Regions from separate parts of the Homo sapiens genome. Here region 2 is linked to region 1. The links are contacts of gene promoters, found by promoter capture Hi-C in human tissues and cell types (Jung and others, 2019). All regions are on one chromosome and are shown on one strand. The core of a region is centred on a gene start or on the middle of the fragment in contact, and the rest is flanking DNA. Distances in the headings are between cores, read along the strand shown.

Region 1 (5,303 bases), core at 1,525-4,024:
AAATGCATGAGGTGATGGATATGCTAACTACCCTGATTTGATCATTATACAACATATACACAGCATATATTGAAATGTCTAATTTACCCCATAAATATGTACAAGTGTCAATTTTAAAAACTTTGTTATTTTTTGGCCAGGGGCGATGGCTCACATCTGTAATCCCAGCACTTTGGGATGCCGAGGCAGGTGGATCACGAGGTCAGGAGATTGAGACCATCCTGGCTAACACGGTAAAACCCTGTCTCTACTTAAAACACAAAAAAATTAGCCGGGCGTGGTGGCAGGCGCCTGTAGTCCCAGCTACTCGGGAGGCTGAGGCAGGAGAATGGTGTGAACCCGGGAGGTGGAGCTTGCAGTGAGCAGAGACTGTGCCACTGCACTCCAACCTGGGCGACAGGGCGAGACTCCGTCTCAAAAAACAAAACAAAACAAAACAAAACAAAATTTTTTTTTAAGAATTAGGAATTCCTAGGACGTAGCAAGCTGCTCTTTCAGCTCTGTCCACTCTGTCATCCCACGTCGCTCCTATTCCCTGTTTCCTCCCTTCTTTATATCTATTCTACTCCTAAATTCCTCCCCCTTATTCTTTATTGCTATGTATGGAAGTCTGGGGAAAAAAAAGTGAAGGGAAAGAATCCGATCTGGAGGGCAATAGTAGGGAAGGGGAAAAGAGTAGGTATTTAGGAGAGGAGATGAAAATCCTCTCGTTTCTGAACCGATCTGATGAGTCAGCAAAGAAGACTTACCACAGCTCCAGGACTTTGGGGGGTAGCTTTTCAGGGACCTGGTAATACTGAAGGACCCAGGAGAGGACTTCTTGCCACCGATCCATTTCTGCCAGGGCCTGGATCCCCACAACACACAGGGAGCACTTCACCTCCAATGAGCTGTCAGCAGAAAAACCAATTTCAGTTAGAAGTGGTTCCCCTCCATTTCCATTCCCACCTCCACCTTGGGACTGTTCCTCTCCAGCTCCCAACTCAGCAGCCATCATCTCTCTCATCCCTGTTAGTATTTAGATGGGCTTCACAATTGGTCTCATGGGCTGCCCTTTCCCCCAGGAACTAAAAGTTCCTGTAACCCTCTTTCAAGAGGCAAGTCAGCTGTTGCTCAACGTTCATCTTTGTATCCAGGTGAAATCAGATTTAAATGAAGAGGAAGGGTAATCCTGAGGGGGAAATAACACACAGCACCGGTGTGTGGCTGAAAAGAGAGCTGGAACTAAGAGTTTGCTCTGTGAACAAATGGGCTTGGAGCAAGGTTTCTGGCTGAGTGGAGGTATAGACTCCATAGCTGGCTAAAAGGCACCACCTAGTAAGGTTCCTCCAGACACCCAGAAGCAAAGCCTTCTGCATTCACTGAAATGAGCTCCCACCCAGTCCCCTAAAACACAGCCAGGGCTCTCCAGATCATCCTTCTTTGTGGTCAACTTTAGCTATTCTACCTACCACCTCCCTAGCGTGGCCTAACCCAAGTTTACAATGCAAAGAAATGACTCCCTCACCTGCCAGACGAGGCTGGTGGCATTAGAAAGAGCAATGCAAGCCCAAGGTTTTTTTCTCCGGATTCTTTTCTTTTTCTTCTTTTTGGTAGAGAAGAGGGCTCATTATGTTACCCAGGCTGGTCTCGAACTCCTGGGCTCAAGCAATCCTCCTGCCTCGGCCTCCCAAAGTGCTGGGATTACAGGCGTAAGCCCCAGCTCCCGGCCCTGAATTAATTCTTTAATCCAGTCCTCTAATTGGACCAGAACGCTGCTCCTGCCATGACCCCCATTCCCCATCATCAGCCAAGGTCAGGAATAAACAACCTTGGGCGGGGCGGGGAGGGCGGAGGTACCTGGGAGAGGACTTTTACCACCTGCTTACTGACAGAACTTAGCACTTAATACACATTCAGCCTTCCCATCATGTCATTGTACCTTGGAACAAGGAGCAAATAATTGGCTGTGGGATCCCCACTAAGTTTTTGTTACACGACTTCCCTTCTCTGTAGAATGGGCACACGATGAGCGACCACCCTCTCGGAGACAAACCACTGATGAAAGCGAGGTGTAAAGCTCCTTGTGGGCAATCTGGGAAGGACAGAACTCCTGAGACCTTGAGCCCCACCACAAGAGCGCCCGGAAATCGGTTCATTTCCGAGCCCAGCACGTACGTGCCCGCGGGTTCCTCTGCCACGGCGTGGTTGGCCAGACTCTGCCAGGCCCGCTCGCAGGTCTCCAGCGCCGCCCGGAAGTCCAGGTGCACCACCAGGAGGTCGGCCGCCTCCTCCAGAAGGTCCACGGCCGGCGCCCGGGCCGGGACCGCGCGCACCGGCTCGCTGCTGCGCAGGGGTCCCCCGAGCCCCCTGAGGGGGGCTGCAGAGGTCGAAGAATCGCTCTTCATAACGAGTCCGGGTCCAAGGCCCAGGTCCTCAGACGTCGGAGTGACCGCCTCCCCAGAGGCTCCGGGATATCCCGAGTTGGCCTGGGCGAAGAGGGAGAGTCCTCATCTCTTTGCCCACACCCCTTCCCGAGGTCGATTCCCCGAGAAGGAAAAGGAAGGGGCCTATCTGAGGCAAAAGCTGGGCTCGCCTGGAGGCTGGGGAAGCAGTTTACACGTCAGATTTGCAGGATTCTTGCATCCCTGGAATACCTGGCCCTAGCTTCTCCGGCCCCGCGACACGTGCAGGAACTGCCTCAGCTCCGGGCTCCTGGTTACGATCAAAGACTCACCTCGCCTCCCGGCAGCGGGCGCGGACATCTTTGCGCTCGCCCAGCCCCGCAGCCGCGCGGCGTCCCGGCGGCGCGGAGTACTCTAGGAGTTGTAGTTCCTCAGCTCTCGGCCCATCGCCTTCTGTAATGGAAGTAGGAGGCAGAGCGCGGACTACAACCCCCAGCACGCCGCGCCCCGGAAGCCGCCCCTGTGCCGTGAGAAAACAAACTGGTGCTACAGCTTCGGGGTGCGGAAGTCAAAACGAAGCAAAACCGAAGCTGTCTTGTGAAATGGAGGGGTCCTCACTAACCAGTTCCAGCGGAGGCTAACGGAAGAAGTGCCAGCAATGGATGTGCAGCTACATGCACGCTTTTAATTCAGAGCTTCTGCGACGGTGGCGATCAGGGGATCTGTAATGTAATGTAATGTCAAGGCTGACGCAGAGCTGATCAAACATTTTGGCAACCTTAGTCTTGAATTGATTCACACTTTCTCCGCGTTGCCTCCGGAGTTTGCTGTAGGGTAATGAATATTGCCTGGTGAGGATGAGGGACTTAGGGTGGAAACCTTCACAAGGACCACTGAGAATATGTTGGTCCCAAGGGCAATGTTCCAAAATGAATAGTGACCCCACCGAGGCGGGGTTGGGGGCGCTGAGCATAAGGGCCTCATTTTTCTCACTGCTCTCTGCCCCATCCTGAATTTGCTGTTAAAAAACAACGTTAAATGCAGATACCAATTCCACTTCCCCACTGTTGTCACTTCCGATCTGTCTTTATATTTCTCCTTATCATTTATCACCATCTACATACCAATGTCTATATTTTACTTATTTTTATTGTCTATTTCCTTCCACTATGATATAAACTCACAAAGGCAGACGTTTTTGTCTCTTTTGTTCACTGTGGGAACCTCAATGCCTTGAACAGTGCCTGTCATCTATAGGTAGTCAAAAAGTATTTGTGGAATAAATGAAGTCCTGGTTTCACTTTTATCTGGTTACAGGGTCCAGACTTCTCTTTCCTCGGAGTCTGGTGGACTTGGTTCTGCCTCAGCTTCCCATGCAGACTTTTCTGCAAGAGAACGGAAATCCCAGAAGATGGATGTGTGCATGTCTGGTGACAAGGGCAGGGGATGTATGATGTGAGCAGGTGCCTGTTTAATCTAATTTCTAGGAGAGCAAAGATTCTAGGGAAGCTTTGGAGTGAATTCAAAGGGTAGAGAACTGGGGAGAAACTAAAGCCAAGAGGATCTAGTACAAATGTGGGAAGCTTGGCAAAGCCCGGGTGAAACAGAATATAATAATAAGTGTGATTTGTGGATCTGTTTAAAATTATTATTATAGTTACAATTTACCAAATACTCTGTTCCCAGTACTTTACTATAAAGTGCATTATGTACGGTATGGTTTTGTTTTTCACAATGTCCTTATTTTACATTGTGTAACTTGCTCATGGAATGACTGTGTATCCCCTGAATAGCAAACATACTTAGTTCTGTCCCTGCAGAGCAGAGTAGAGCTCAATACACATCTTTGAACCAAAAGAGCCTCGGTTTGACTGAGATTTTGTCGCTTACTAGTTGTGTGACCTCGGCAATTTATTTAAATAAGCTCTGATTTCCTCACCTGTAAAATTGGGATAACAGTTTGTCCTTAGCTCCCAATGGCTGAGGGAAGAATTAAGTAATATTGCGCATAAAGCGCCATGCGCATTAAGCACTGAAAATGTGAGCCAGGCCTGGGAAGACGAACATGCTCAGAAGCGGCCAGCTCTAAGCGGCTGCTGCCTGGAAAAGTCCCTTTCCTAACAAATTTCTTGCTATTCCAAATTTGTCCAGGAGATGGAGGCACAGTCTTAACAGAAGCAGCCTTGCTAAAAGTAAATTTGCCTATTTAGTAGTGAGACAGCCAGAATGAGGTCAAGATATTTAAGGCAGGAGAGAGGAGAGCTAGAAACCATATAAAAATATGATTGTATTCCATTTCTGATTCACCCAATTTTCAACTATTCCCGGGCTTCATATCAGTCCGTATGTAACCACTGTTTAGCACTATTATGCCCACAAATGGATTCCTCAACACACATCCAGTGGGACACATCATCTCCTCTATGTCTACAAGTACTTAGACTTTCTCAAGCGAAGACACAGAAATCCTAAACAGAAGCGAATTCATTCCCTCTGGGGGAACATAAATGCGTATTGTCTTTACTTAGCCAAACTTCTGTCTCTAAGTTGGAGCTCATGGGACAGCCTTTGAAATCATCTCTTCTGTCATTTCCTCATCTTTGAGACAAAAAACACAGTGGAAATAAGGACAGTCCTTTCAGATGTATAAGGCCAGGCCCATATTAATATTTGTATTGTTTGAATAGTTTTATTTTGGGAAAACTGGCAGAGCACCTGAGATGCCAGTATCCTCGTTACAACCCCTTCCCTAGCCCTACCTAGGCTCTGGAACTTGGGGTTGTTCCTTCCATTTGGCAGAGGGCTCAGTGTGGCTCCTTGCCTGAGGAGGCAGATTTGCTCAGCCTGCTGTAGCAGGGGATGAGTTGTTGTTTTTGTAGCAGAAAGCACACTGGACTGGAGATGAGAGGCATGGCTAGA
Region 2 (5,772 bases), core at 3,265-5,764, 75 kb before region 1:
CTCTTCATGTTGCTGTCTTCTTCCTTCTTTTCTTCAAGATCTGCCGGGGACTGCGAGGACTCAGCCAGGATGGACTGACAGATTTGCCTCAGGAGCCCAAACGCCTTGCTCATTCGTGATCACTCCAAAACCCCCAGGCCGCAGCTGCCTGGCCCGCGTTCAGGACAGCACGACTTCACTTCCAGGAAGCGCTTATGTGAGCCAGGCACGATGGAATCTCTGTGAAAATACAATGCGGGTAGGCAAGAATTAGAGAAGGAGGAATGTGTATTCATGTAATCCGTTCTGATGCCAAAGAGCAGGTCTTAGAGGGAGATAAATGTTTGGGGAGACTGACTCATAGAGCTCTAGGCTGGAAATGACAGCTAGGCTACACATCCCCTAACCTGGGTCCCAGGCGTTTCCATTCATCCTCAGAGCCGACTGCCAAATCCTAACCGGGAGCGCCCTCTTGGGAAAGGACAGGGAAGCGCGCATAGGACTTTGCTTTACAACCCAGGACCAGGCCCACTTCAGTAAAAAGCCAGCACTAAGCAAGAACTCTCAGCCCCTGATGCCAGGCTGGCATACAGGGGAAGCCTCTCAACCCGCCCAACACCCAAGGGGACCTGCGGCCCTGGCAGAACAGCCTCGTGTTCTGGCCCGCAACACTGCCGGCCAGCTGCAGCAGTCAGATAAACCTTAGCTGCAGGCAGGCTGTAGCTACCTGTCGGCCTTAGGCACATCCTGGTGCTGGGCTGGTCTCATGGCATGAATTCTGGGGGTGTGACTCAATATTGTCTCAGCCTCAGTGGCCATAGGGGTACCCGTGTACCCTCCCCCAACCCAGCACAGCTGTGTGAAGAGAGACACTGTTTGCTTGGGGGAAGAAGAGGTAAGTGGAGTACTTCGCCTTGGAACCCAGTGTGTCCGGAATTGGTGGGTGCTTGGTCTCACTGACTTCAAGAATGAAGCCGTGGACCCTCGCAGTGAGTGTTACAGTTCTTAAAGGGGGCATGTCCGCAGTTTATTCCTTCTGATGTTCGGATGTGTTCGGAGTTTCTTCCTTCTGGTGGGTTTGTGGTCTCGCTAGCTCAGGAGTGAAGCTGCAGACCTTCGCGGTGAGTGTTACAGCTCCTAATACGGCGCATCTGGAGATGTCCGTTCCTCCCGGTGGGTTCGTGGTGTCGCTGGCTTCAGGAGCGAAGCTGCGGACCTTCACGGTGAGTGTTACAGCTCTTAAGGCAGCGCGTCTGGAGTTGTTAGTCCCTCCTGGTTGGTTTGTGGTCTTGCTGGCTTCAGGAGTGAAGCTACAGACCTTCGCGGTGAGTGTTACAGTTCATAAAGGCAGTGTGGACCCAAAGAGTGAGCAGTAGCAAGACTTACTGCAAAGAATGAAACAACAAAGCTTCCACAGCATGGAAGGAAACCTGACCAGGTTGCCACTGCTGGCTCGGGCAGCCTGCTTTTATTCTCTTATCTGGCCCCACCCACATCCTGCTGATTGGTCCATTTTATAGACAGCCAATTGGTCTGTTTTACAGAGAGCTGATTGGTCCGTTTTGACAGGGTGCTGATGGGTGTGTTTACAATCCCTGAGCTAGACACAAAACGTCTCCACGTCCCCACTAGATTAGCTAGATACAGAGTGTGGACACAAAGGTTCTCCAAGTCCCCACCAGAGTAGCTAGATTCAGAGGGTCGACTGGTGCATTCACAAACCCTGAGCTAGACACAGGGTGCTGATTGGTGTGTTTACAAACCTTGAGCTAGATACAGAGTGCCGATTGGTATATTTACAATCCCTTAGCTAGACATAAAGATTCTCCAAGTCCCCACCAGACTCAGGAGCCCAGCTGGCTTCACCCAGTGGATCCCACACCTGGGCCGCAGGTGGAGCTGCCTGCCAGTCCCGCGCCGTGCGCCCGCACTCCTCAGCCCTTGGGTGGTCGGTGGGACTCGGCGGCGTGGAGCCGGGAGCGGCGCTGGTCGGGGAGGCTTGGTCCGCACAGGAGCCCATGGCTGCGGGGTGGGGAGGCTCAGGCATGGCGGGCTACAGGTCCCGAGCCCTGCCCTGCCAGGAGGCAGCTAAGGCCCGGCGAGAAATCGAGCACAGCAGCTGCTGGCCCAAGTGCTAAGCCCCTTACTGCCTGGGGCTTGCAGGCCGGCCGGCTGGCCGCTCCGAGTGCGGGCCCGCCGAGCCCACGCCCACTCGGAACTCGCGCTGGCCCACAAGCACCGCGTGCAGCCCCAGTTCCCGCCCCTGCCTCTCCCTCCACACCTCCCCGCAAGCTAAGGGAGCCCACTCCAGCCTCGGCCAGCCCAGGAAGGGGCTCCCACAGTGCAGCGGTGGGCTGAAGGGCTCCTCAAGCGTGGCCAGAGTGGGCGCCAAGGCCGAGGAGGCACCGAGAGCGAGCGAGGGCTGTGATGGCTGCCAGCACGCTGTCACCTGTCACCAGGACTAGGCTCACTACAGTAAAACCCAGTACTGGGCAGAGCCTCATCACCCTGATACTAGACCAGTACCCACAGGCAGATCTCACCCCACCCTAGTGCCAGATGAGAACCCACAGCCCCAGTAACAGGGACTGGCGATCTGGCCCACATCACTACCTGACAACTACAGTGGCCCTGGGCCCTGAATAACTTCAGCAGCAGCAAGCACGCCATCACAGCTGTGGGTCTTGGGCGTGCCCCAGTGCTGTGCCAGTCTCGGCAGCTATGGCCTTCAGGCATAACCCAGGGCTGTGTCAGCCTCAGTGGCCAAAGAATTCCAACCACAGTGATGCTGGGCTTAGAGCACCCCCCAGCACTACAACAGCTGAAGCAGTCATGGGCTTAGGGTCCTGACCAATCAGCCTCTCCCTAATCTCCTATGGGTTTCCTGATGAAAGACGAGCCCAAACAAAGCCAGGCAATGAAGACTGGCTTAGGTACCTATGTCAATGCACAGACATTGACACACAGCCATAAGGATCAAGGTCAATCAGAGAAACATGACATCACCAAATGAACAAATTAAGGTGCCAGTGACTAACCCTAAAGATATAGAGATGAGGCCTGGCATGGTGGCTCAGGCCTGTAATCCCAGCAGTTTGGGAGGCTGAGGTGGGAGGATCACTTGAGCCCAGGAGTTCAAGACTAGCCCGGGCAACATACTGAGACCCCATCTCTAAAAAAAAATTTAGATGGTCATAGTGGTGCACGCCTGTGGCCCCAAATACTGAGAAGGGTGAAGGAGGAGGATCACTTGAGGCCAGGAGTTTGAGGCTGCACTGAACTATGATTGTGCCACTACACTCCAGCCTGGGCAACAAATGAGACCTTGTATCTAAATAAATAAATAAGATGAAATAAAATAATAATAATGGGTAACATCGAAGCACTATTTCTTATAAAAGGTGAAAGCCTTTTATATGTACTGTCTTATTTATCCTTACACAGCCATGTGAATTAATTACTGTTATATTTCCATTTGACAGATGAGAAAACTGAGATACAAAGAAGTAAGTGCCTTTCCCACTGGCAAGTGATGGGCCAGATGTAGACAAGCTGGACGGGGTTTAAGTCCAGCTAACATGCTGCTCAGAGTGAGGAATAAACTCAACCAAATCATTGGTGGGAATGTAAATTAGTAGAGCCATTATGGAAAACAGTATGGAGATTCCTTAAAAACCTAAAAATAGATATACCACATGATCTAGTAATGCCACTGCTGAATATATATCCAAAGGAAAGGGAATCAGTATGTTGAAGAGATATTTGCACTCTCATGTTTACTGCAGCACTGCTCATAATACCCGAGATACGGAATCAACCTAAGTGTCTATCAAAAGAGGAATGGATAAAGAACATGTGGACTATATACACAAAATGGGATGTTATTCAGCCATTACAAGAGAATGAAATCCTGTAATTCCCATCAACATGGATGAGCCTGGAGTACATTACGTTAAGTGGAATAACCTAGGCACAGAAAGATAAATACCACATGTTCACACTCATATGTGAAAGCTCAAAAAGCTTATCTCCTAGAAATAGAGAATAGAAAGCCAGGCATGGCAGTTCACACCTGCAATCCCAGCACTTTGGTTGGCTGAGGCAAGAGGATAGCTTGAAGCCAGGAGTTCAAGACCAGTCTAGGCAACATAGCATGTTGCCTAAATAAAATAAAAAATATTTTATTTTCTAAAAATAAAAATAAAATTAGCCTAGCATGGTGGCATGTACTTGTGGTCCCAGCTACTTGGGAGACTGAGGCAGGAGAATCAGTTGAGCCCAGGAATTTGAGGCCACAGTGAGTTATGATCGTGCCACGGCACTCCAGCCTGGGCAACAGGGCAAGACCCTGTCTCCTTTTTTTTTTTTGAGATGGAATTTCACTCTTTTTACCCAGGCTGGAGTGCAGTGGTACAATCTCAGCTCACTGCAACCTCTGCCTCCCGAGTTCAAGCACTTCCCCTGCCTTAGTGTCCCAAATAGTTGGAACTACAGGCATGTGCCACCACGCATGGCTAATTTTTGTATTTTTAGTAGAGACGGGGTTTCACCATGTTGGCCAGGCTGGTCTTGAACTCCTGACCTCAGGTGATCCACCCATCTCGGCCTCCCAAAGTGCTGGGATTACAGGCATGAGCCACCGCGCCCAGCCTGGAATATATTCTTAAATTCATGTTGGATGGCTCAGATAACAACAACCTCTTTTTCTTAGTAAATATTGACTTTCAATAGTTATAAACAGTTGTTCTTCTTACAAGGCCCAGCCTAGGAGGACTCAACTGAAATGATGACAGCAGACAATTCCATCAGCAAGAAAGAGGATTTTGAGCTCATCATTGAGGGAAAGCTGATGAAAGAGAGCAGAGAGGTTCCAGGCTGCATTTTCCAAGATGTTGTCCTCTTCTCCGCCAAGACCTCCCAGATACTTCAGTAGGATATAGCAGTAAAACCTCATGGAGCAGATCATTTGAGCAGGCTCGGTCCCAAAGGGAAACAAAATACAGCAGCCTTTCAGGGTAGATCACACTGGGGAGACAGGGAGGCGGGGCAGCAAGGAAAGGAAAGTGAAGCTTAAAAGGTCTAAGGAGGATGGGGAGGGCAAGGCGAGCAGAGAGACCGCAGCTGAAGTTAGCAGGGGCAATAAGCATCCACCAGAGAAAACAGCCTGGGCGGATTCCAAGGAAGGGGATTTTCAAACTCAACTGCTGACTCAAAAAAAGACCCCCAGGCCAGGCGCGGGGTCTTTGTTTGAGACTCTGTCTCAAACAAAACAAAACAAAAATCCCAAATACTAAACTAACTTAGCTCCCACCCTACCTGAATTTTTTTTTTTTTTTTTGGTTCACGTTCTCTCATGATCTTCCCGAAATGTTATCCTTAAGCTTCGGGGAGAGGTGAGCAACGGAAGGAACTGGCCCAGGCCCACCACTAAAGAAGCCCCAGGACCAATCGGGGTCCTCAGAGAAGCCCCAGAAGAGCCAGGAACAAGCTGCAGAAAACCTGGGGAGGGTGGGGCCTCCACCCAATACTCCACTCACAACTGGACTCTCTGCCAGGAAAGCCAACTCCAACATTTAGATGCCCTAAAAGGAACAAAATTAACCTGCCAGGAACATGATTCAAGCAGCCTCGGTGTCTTCCGACCCACCCCATCATGGCAACCACAATTGTAGACCGCAGTCTCGATGACGTGTTCACATTATTTTGCATTTCTTTTTTCTTTTTTTATTTTTATTTTTATTTTTGAGACGGAGTCTCCCTCTGTCGCCCAGGCTGGAGTGCAGTGGCCGGATC

Evidence for each region. Contacts are between HindIII fragments. The study calls those that stand out against the background at their distance.
Region 2: a contact is called between a fragment that was not itself captured here and the fragment with the promoter of PEX26 in region 1, in 5 of the 25 tissues and cell types used here (lymphoblastoid cells, pancreas, small bowel and 2 more).

The regions. Positions count from the first base shown.
Region 1 is chr22:18,075,461-18,080,763 of GRCh38, reverse strand. It overlaps PEX26 (peroxisomal biogenesis factor 26), which reads right to left and starts at 2,774. Exons shown (of 5, transcript NM_001127649.3): 1 at 2,158-2,774; 2 at 750-890. The coding sequence starts at 2,387. LOC105372853 (a long non-coding RNA gene) reads right to left here. Exons shown (of 6, transcript XR_001755424.2): 6 at 2,868-3,106. RefSeq lists enhancers at 1,951-2,000, 2,481-2,710, 3,041-3,100 and a silencer at 2,361-2,410. The HindIII fragment of the contact is 17,547 bases long and covers 1-5,303 here.
Region 2 is chr22:18,152,005-18,157,776 of GRCh38, reverse strand. USP18 (ubiquitin specific peptidase 18) reads right to left here. Exons shown (of 11, transcript NM_017414.4): 2 at 1-219. The coding sequence starts at 113. Among named protein-coding and RNA genes, the nearest start is that of USP18, 4.7 kb to the right of the region's middle. RefSeq lists enhancers at 1,954-2,455, 4,938-5,187. The HindIII fragment of the contact is 3,638 bases long and covers 2,696-5,772 here.